Regions from separate parts of the Homo sapiens genome. Here region 1 is linked to region 2. Evidence: promoter capture Hi-C in 16 types of primary human blood cells and fetal thymus (Javierre and others, 2016). All regions are on one chromosome and are shown on one strand. The core of a region is centred on a gene start or on the middle of the fragment in contact, and the rest is flanking DNA. Distances in the headings are between cores, read along the strand shown. Region 1 overlaps NDUFAB1 (NADH:ubiquinone oxidoreductase subunit AB1). Region 2 holds the start of COG7 (component of oligomeric golgi complex 7).

Region 1 (3,812 bases), core at 837-3,336, 140 kb before region 2:
AAAAAAAAAAAAAAAAGAGACCAGAGGCAGGAGCATGAGAGGGTAGTAGGATCAAGTATTTTGGGGCTACGCTACAGCCAAGGTATCAAACTAGCTGCTGCTGGTCATTGTTCTCAGGATCCTACTAAATAACCCTAAATAGCACTTACTGTGTTAAGTGCCAGCCAATGTCCAAGCCTTTACTTCATCTCACTGATGCTTCACAACAGTCCTGTGAGTGTGGTACTGTTGTTTATCCCCATTTTACAGATGAGGAAACTGAGATGTAGAAGGTTAAGTAACCCACCCAAGGCCAAACAACTAGTGAGAGCCAGCACCATGGTGCAGGCATAGGTGGTCTAGTTTCAGCGTCTGAGCTCTTGCCCACTAACTTACTGCCTCACGCTGATCCTGATGCAGCACCCACTCTAGATTGGCATGTGGCCTCCAGTCAGAGACTCGTTTAATTTAATCACATGGTGCCCACCTGGCCCTTGTAGGTACTTGCTGGAGCTGCTGAGGACAATGCTGACAACCTAGTTGGCCTCATGGGTAGTTGTGTACGAACATAGAATATACCCTCACCAGGGGTCTTGCTTTGTTGCCCAGGTTGGTCTGGAACTCCTGGGCTCAAGCGATCCTTCCACTTTGGCCTCCCAAAGTGTTGGGATTACAGGCGTGAGCCACCACACCTGGCATCGTACCATTTCTTTTTTTTTTTTTTTTTTTTTTTCTTTTTGGAGACAGAGTCTCACCCTGCCGCCCAGGCTGGAGTGTAGAGCCATGATCTCAGTTCACTGCAACCTCTGCCTCCTAGGTTCAAGTGATCCTCCCACTTCAGCCTCCTGATTAGCTGGGATTATAGGCACACGCCACGATGCCCGGCTAATTTTTGGACTTTCAGTAGAGATGGAGGTTTCACTGTGTTGGGCAGGCTGGTCTTAAACTCCTGACCTCAAGAGATCCGCCCACCTTGGCCTCCCAAAGTGCTGGGATTACAGGCGTGAGCCACCACACCTGGCCTCGTACCATTTCTTGATAAGCACACAGCCTCTGTTAGATCCCTCCAACTGAAATTTCTTTTCTGCCATTGCCATATTACCTCATTTCTTCTCCCCCTTTCTCTTTATTCCTTTCTTCTCCATTTTATTTGTGACTTGGAAACCTATTTGAGTCATTGTTAAGTAGGCCGGTCATGTGCCTGTATAAAAGGTCTCCTTAACCCATGTATAATACGAAAGGAGACTAGACATTTAGACAAAGAAACATGCTCTAAAACTCTTGAAAGTACTCAGAAAGGCTCGTTAGAATATCTATCATACTCTCCAACTCATCTCTTTAGTTTGCTGATTAAACCTGATTTTTTTTTTTTTTTTCTTGAGACGGAATCTCACTCTGTCACCCATGCTGGAGTGTAAATGGCATGATCTTGGCTCACTGCAACCTCCGACTCCCAAGTTCAAGCGATTCTTCTGCTTCAGCCTCCTGAGTAGATGGGATTACAGGCACATGTTACCACGCCCAGCTAACTTATATTTTTGGTAGAGACGGGGTTTCTCCATGTTGGTCAGGCTAGTGTCGAACTCCTGACCTCGTGATCCGCCTGCTTCGGCTTCCCAAAGTGTGGCAATTACAGGTGTGAGCCACTGCGCCCAGCCTAAACCTGATTTTAATAACTGACTTCTTTTTCTTTTCTTTTTTGAGACAGAGTCTCGCTCTGTGGCCCAAGGTGGAGTGCAGTGGCACAGTCTCGGCTCACTGCAACCTCTGTCTGGGTTCAAGCAATTCTCATGCCTCAGCTACCTGAATAGCTGGGATTACAGGCACACACCACCACGCCCAGCTAATTTTTGTATTTTTAGTAGAGACGAGGCTTCACCATGTTGGCCAGGCTGGTCTCGAACTCCTGGCCTCAAGTGATTGGCTCACCTCGGCCTCCCAAAGTGCTGGGATTACAGGTGTGAGACACACATCGGCCCAATACCTGTTCTTTATGCAAGATGAATGTTTCTTCTACAGAGGTTATACTGGTTTGGTTCTCTGGGCAGTATTTATTATGATTTTTCATGGACCTTTGTGAGTTTCAGGGACCTGAGCCCTAACAAGCAGCCCCACTTTCTATAGGGAAATGCCTGAAGAACGCCAAGCCTCGGACTTAAAATCAACTTCAGGAGGTAAACAAACCAATTTAGATTAGGGATTTCTTTCTTTTTCTTTTTTTTGAGACGGAGTCTTGCTTTGTCGCCCAGGCTGGAATGCAATGGCGCAGGCTCGGCTCACTGCAACCTCTCCTCCCACATTCAAGCGATTCTCCTTCCTCAGTCTCCTGAGTAGCTGGGATTACAGGCGCCCACCACCACGCCTGGCTAATTTTTGTATTTTTAGTAGAGACGGGGTTTCACCATGTTGGCCAGGCTGGTCTCGAACTCCTGACCTCAGGTGATCTGCTCACCGTGGCCTCCCAAAGTGTTGTGATTATAGGCGTGAGCCACCACGACTAGCCAGATTAGGGATTTCAGTAGTGAGCAAAACTGCCAGATACCCTGTTTTGTTTTCTCTGATTCTGCGTCGTACCTTCCACAGCATTAAACCCCCTGACCTGTAATTGCAGCTCATTCCACATTTGTTGAATGAAATCTGGTCAATACCCTAATACCTAAACATTGAGCCGACTAATACCAGAGATACGTGAGGTATTGCTCTAACATGGCACAGGCCAGAAGGGCTCATGGTTTGGCTGGTGGCCATGAGGCAAGCCTCGCTGGAAGGGAAACAGATTGGAATGTAGTGACTGTAAGCTCCCTCATCCCCTCTTTGGGTGGGAGGCCAGCTTCCTTTGTCCTGGCTGAGATCAGGGAGATAACTGCTGGAACCAAACTAGACCTTTCTGGTGTATGGTCCTCAATTTGAATTGCCTTTGGGTTTACCATGACAGCTCTTTCCTTTTGGGTTATTTTGACTTGGGTCAGCCTATTAAAGGTGGCAGCACCCTGTAGAGGCCTCGGGATGCTGAAGATGCCATGAGAAGACACAGGCATTCTGCAGACGCTAGACAATTTTAGTGGCAGTTAGTGTCGCAGAGCAGTATGAATGTCCAGAGCCTGAGGGTTGAAGCCAGGAGGCAGAGGGGCCGGTCCTGACTCCCAGGAAGGAGGCCTGAGATGCTGCTGAACTGTTGGGGCTTCTGCGATTACCCAGTCCTGCAACTTAGTGTGTCCTGGTGGCCACAATGAGAATCAGATGCTGTGGGTTCTCTAAAGCCCCGAAAGTTCTGTGAAAGTTACCTATAGGCTTGTGCATTGATTTAGAGGTATTTTCCATTCAATGACAGTGTTTCCTTCCTGCCGTCGCTCTAGGTTCCTGGTAGAGTTACACAGTTGTGCCGCCAGTATAGCGACATGCCTCCTTTGACGTTAGAGGGCATCCAGGACCGTGTTCTTTACGTATTGAAACTCTATGACAAGATTGACCCAGAGAAGGTAACTGATGGTGGTTTGAATTTTTTTCTTTAAATATAGAGTATTTAATTACATGCTAGAAAATGCAAAGGGAAAGATACTCAGTAAAAATCTCCCTGGCTCCCAGACACCCAGGCCCATTCTGGGAGATAGCCAGCGCTACCAGTTTCATGTATGTTTCCAAAGGTACTCAATGCATATGTTAAAGAAGTATACACACGTGTGTATATTATATGTATGTATCTCTCACCCTTTTTAAAAAACACAACTGGCCGGGCACTGTGGCTCATGCCTGTAATCCCAGCACTTTGGGAGGCCGAGGCGGGCGGATCACCTGAGGTCGGGAATTCAAGACCAGCCTGACTAACATGTAGA
Region 2 (4,397 bases), core at 1,541-4,040:
GTAATCCCAGCTACTTGGGAGGCTGAGGCAGGAGAATTGCTTGAATCTGGGAGACGGAGGTTGCAGTGAGCTGAGATTGCCCTGCTGTACTCCAGCCTGTGTGACAAAGCAAGACTCCATCACACACACACACACAAAATCATTTTTCTGTAACAAGAAACTATGAAAATTAAGAAAATTCCATTCATGTTAGCATTAAAAGGAAATACTTATTTTATTTATTTATTTTTTGAGATGGAGTCTCACTCTGTCACCCAGGCTGGATAACAGTGGCCCGATCTCTGTTCACTGCAACCTTTGCCTCCCGGGTTCAAGCAGTTCTCCTGCCTCAGCCTCCTGAGTAGCTGGGATTACAGGTGCACACAACCACGCCAGGCTGTTTTTGTATTTTCAGTAGAGACGGGGTTTCACCATGTTGGGCAGGCTAGTCTTGTATGGAACTCCTGACCTTGTGATCCTCCTGCCTCGGCCTCCCAAAGTGCTGGGATTGCAGGCATGAGCCACTGCACCTAGAAAAGGAAATACTTATAAATAAATAAATTTAACAAAATAAGTGCAAGACTTGTATTATACAATGAAAACTACAAAATATTGCTGAGAGAAATTAAAGAAGATCTAAATCAGATCTAAATCCCCAGGGGTGATTCCTACTAGGGAACACTTGGCACTGTGTGGACAGATTTTTGGTTGCCACAACTTGGAGAGGATGTTGCTCCTAATGGGTAGCGGCCAGGGATGCTGCGAAATATCTTACAATGCATAGGACAGCCCCCATAACTAAAAATTATCTGGGCTCAGTAGTGCCAAGGCTGAAAAATTCCCATCTAAATAAATGAAGAGGCGTTTCATGCTATGGATTGGAACAGTCAATATTGTCATGATGGCAATTCTCCTAAAATTAATCCAACAATTCAACAGTTCAACATAATCCCTGTCAAAATCCCAGCAGGATTTTTTTTTTTTTTGGGGGGGATGGAGTCTCGGTCTGTTGCCCAGGCTGGAGTGCAGTGGCGGATCTCGGTTCACTGCAACCTCTGCCTCCTAGGTTCAAGCGATTCTCCTGCCTCTGCCTCCTGAGTGGCTGGGATTACAGGCGCGTGCCACCATGCCCAGCTAATTTTTTTATTATTAGTAGAGATGGGGTTTGACCATGTTGGTCAGGCTGGTCTCAAACTCCTGACCTCATCATCTGCCTGCCTCGGCCTCCCAAAGTGCTGGGATTACAGGCGTGAGCCACTGTGTCCTGCCTAAATTTTTAACAAGAGCAAAGTAAGAGGACTTACACTATCAGATTGCTCCCCTCGTCTCCCCTCCCTGCATTGCTCCCCTCCTCTCTCCTTCCCTCCTCTCCCCTCCCCCCAAATAACTGGGACTCCTAGCAGAAGGGTTACCCCAGTTAAAACCTACTCAACCCAGAAGAATGAGACAAACCAAGGGAGATGCCAATGAAAAACGAGTGACTATCAGGCCTGGAGATGGCAGCCAGCCACTCATACCCCAATGGCAGGCCAACCTGGAAAACTGTCCCCTGTAGGGTTTCCAAGGATGACATCTTGTCCTCCCCCTTGGGTTGGTCCCACTCTTGAAACAACATAAAAACTTAGAACCTAAAGAATACCCTCATACCTTCCCCTACCTTTTCTTCTTTTCTTTTCGAGACAGGGTCTCGCTCTGTCACCCAGGCTGGAGTGCAGTGGCGTGATCACAGCTCACTGCAGCCTCGACCTCCTGGGCTCAGGCAATCCTCTCACCCCAGCCTCTCGAGTAGCTGAGACTACAGGTGTGCGCCACCACACTCAGCTAATTTTTAATTTTTTTGCAGAGACGGGGTCTTCCTATGTTGCCCAGGCTGAGAAATTGTTTGTGATTATGGGTTATGCACAGATTTCTCAGCCGCAACACCAAAAGCATGATCCATAAAAAAAGGTGATAAGGAACTTAACAAACTTTAAAAGGTCTGCACCTCAAAACACATCATTAAGAAAATAATTAGTTAGGCCAGGCGCGGTGACTCACGCCTGTGATCCCAACACTTTGGGAGGCCGAGGCAGGCGGATCACCTGAGGTTGGGAGTTTGAGGCCAGCCTGGCCAGCGTGGTGAAACCCCATCTCTACTAATAATACAAAAAGTAGCCGGGCGTGGTGGCACGCGCCTGTAATCCCAGCTACTCGGGAGGCTGAGGCAAGACACTCGCTTGAACCTGGGAGGCGGAGGTTGCAGTGAGCCGAGATCGCGTCACTTCGCTCCAACCTGGGCGACAGAGCAAGACTCCGTCTCAGAAAAAAATAAAGAAAGAAAGAAAAAGAAAGAAATAGCCGGGCGTGTTGTCGCGCGCCTGTAGTCCCAGCTACTCTGGAGGCTGAGGTGGGAGGATCGCTGGAGCCCAGAAATTTGAGGCTGCAGTGAGCTGAGATCGTTCAATTGCCCAGGAATTTGAGGCTGTAGTGAGCAGAGATCGTTCAATTGCACTCCATTGCTGCCCACTGCGCTCCACTGTTGCCCAGGCTGTCCTAGAACTCCTGGCCTCAAGCGATTCTCCCGCGTCAGCTTCCTAAAGAGCTGGGATTACAGGCGCGAGCCACCGCGTAAATGCGCTAATGTATGTCAGGGCTTTATAGTAAGCATATAGTTTAGTCCTCGGCAAATGTTAGCAGACATGGGATATTTGTCGGTGCCGGGAGCTCTCAGTCCGGGGCGTTTTCCCACACCCACCTCTGCTCAGCGCTCCGGACGCCTGCAGTCACTATGGTAACGGCCAACGACTTCCGGAAGAAGAACGGCGGGCGGCGAGGGTCATTCCCAGCCGCAAACTGAGTGCGCTGAGCGGGGAAGCGCAAAGGGGCAAGTTACCCGTCCTGGCGTTTCTGGGGTTCGCCTCGGAGGCTAGCCTCGGTGCTCTCGCAGGCTCGCTCGCTTCTGCATCCCCGTTGCCGCCCGGAGCCAACTCTTAAGTTCTGGACGCCAGGCCTGAGGCAGTTCCGCCATGGACTTCTCCAAGTTCCTGGCAGACGACTTCGACGTGAAGGAGTGGATCAATGCGGCCTTCAGGGCCGGCTCCAAGGAGGCGGCGTCCGGGAAGGCGGATGGCCACGCAGCCACCCTGGTGATGAAGCTGCAGCTGTTCATCCAAGAGGTGAACCACGCCGTGGAGGGTGAGCCGCTCGGGGCCCTGGCCGCGGGACCCTCCCCTGCTCTCGGCTGGGCAGAGGTCACCGAACTTGCGTGAGGCACTCAGGTGGGCGGGGCACGCATGGACAGCAAATACCCTCGGCAAAAGAGCAAGCCCCGAACTCCTGATCACGTCAGCGGGAGTCTCAGCTGGGTGCCGGGCTGTCTTGAACACTTGCTAATTTTGGGTGTTGTTTTTCCTCCTCTGGCTGGGCTATAAGTTTCCTTTTTCTTTTCTTTCTTTCTCTTTGTTTTTTCTTTTGAAACAGGGTCTCTCTACAGTGGCTCGATCATAGCTCACTGCAGCCTCGAACTCCTGCACTCAAGCGATCCTCTCGCCTCTCGAGTCGCTAGGACTACAGGCGCGAGCCACCGCGCCCCACAAATTCTGTTTAAAAAAAAAATTGTAGAGATGGGATCTCACTGTGTTGCCAGGCTGGTCTCAAATTCAAATTCCTGGGCATAATGGGTTTTCCAGTCTTGGCCTCCCAAAGTACTGTGATTATACCTGTGAGCCACCACATCTGGCCTGAAGTTTCCTTTTGGAACTTAAAAGAGTGGATCTTATTGCAGTAGCTCTTCTCTAAATAATTCAATAGCAGATCTCTGGGATTCCCTTTTTATTATTATCCATAGGCACTGGAAGACAAGATGGATCTTTTTAAATGCTAGAAGTTTTAACCAGTTCTTAACATGTCTTTGTTGAGGCACCTTCCAGAATATAAGATAAAACAACTCCAGTTTCTGTTATAGTGACTTGAATCTCAGAGTCAAGAGCCCAGTGTCAAAGAAAATTGGCTTTGACTTTTTGTAATCTAGGAGCACGAGTCTGTGAGGTGTTTATTCAAAGAGTTAAAGAGCCTGTTTTGTACCAAACAATAAACTGTAAAAAGAAAAAAAAAGTGAATTTTGAGAGTATGAAAGAATAGCCAACAGATCCATATATCTGGAAAAAACGTATTATAGTATAGGTATAAGAGAATGACACAGATCTAGAAAACATTGTTTTAGTGGATTTTATTTCAGCTGAGGAAGATAGGCTGGTCTCAGTGGAGACTTAAACCTTTTTTTTTTTTTTTTTTTTGAGACAGGGTCTCATTCCTCATTCTGCTGCCCAAGCTGGAATGCAGTGATACCATCATAGTTCACTGCAGCCTCAAACTCTGGGTTCAAGCAGTCCGCTCGCCTCAGCCTCCCAAGTAACTGGAACTATAGGCATGTGCCACCA

The links. Contacts are between HindIII fragments. The CHiCAGO score rates a contact against its expected background, and 5 or more counts as called.
Region 1: a fragment that was not itself captured here is called in contact with the fragment with the promoter of COG7 in region 2 in 1 of 17 cell types (naive B cells); the score reaches 5.1 in naive B cells.

Annotation. Positions count from the first base shown.
Region 1 is chr16:23,586,843-23,590,654 of GRCh38, reverse strand. NDUFAB1 (NADH:ubiquinone oxidoreductase subunit AB1) reads left to right here. Exons shown (of 5, transcript NM_005003.3): 2 at 3,336-3,458. Among named protein-coding and RNA genes, the nearest start is that of NDUFAB1, 7.6 kb to the left of the region's middle. The HindIII fragment of the contact is 6,808 bases long and covers 1-3,812 here.
Region 2 is chr16:23,451,582-23,455,978 of GRCh38, reverse strand. COG7 (component of oligomeric golgi complex 7) reads left to right here and starts at 2,790. Exons shown (of 17, transcript NM_153603.4): 1 at 2,790-3,153. The coding sequence starts at 2,985. LOC124903667 (a long non-coding RNA gene) reads right to left here and starts at 3,236. Exons shown (of 2, transcript XR_007065030.1): 1 at 2,714-3,236; 2 at 190-509. RefSeq lists enhancers at 2,461-2,510, 2,801-3,130. The HindIII fragment of the contact is 18,303 bases long and covers 1-4,397 here.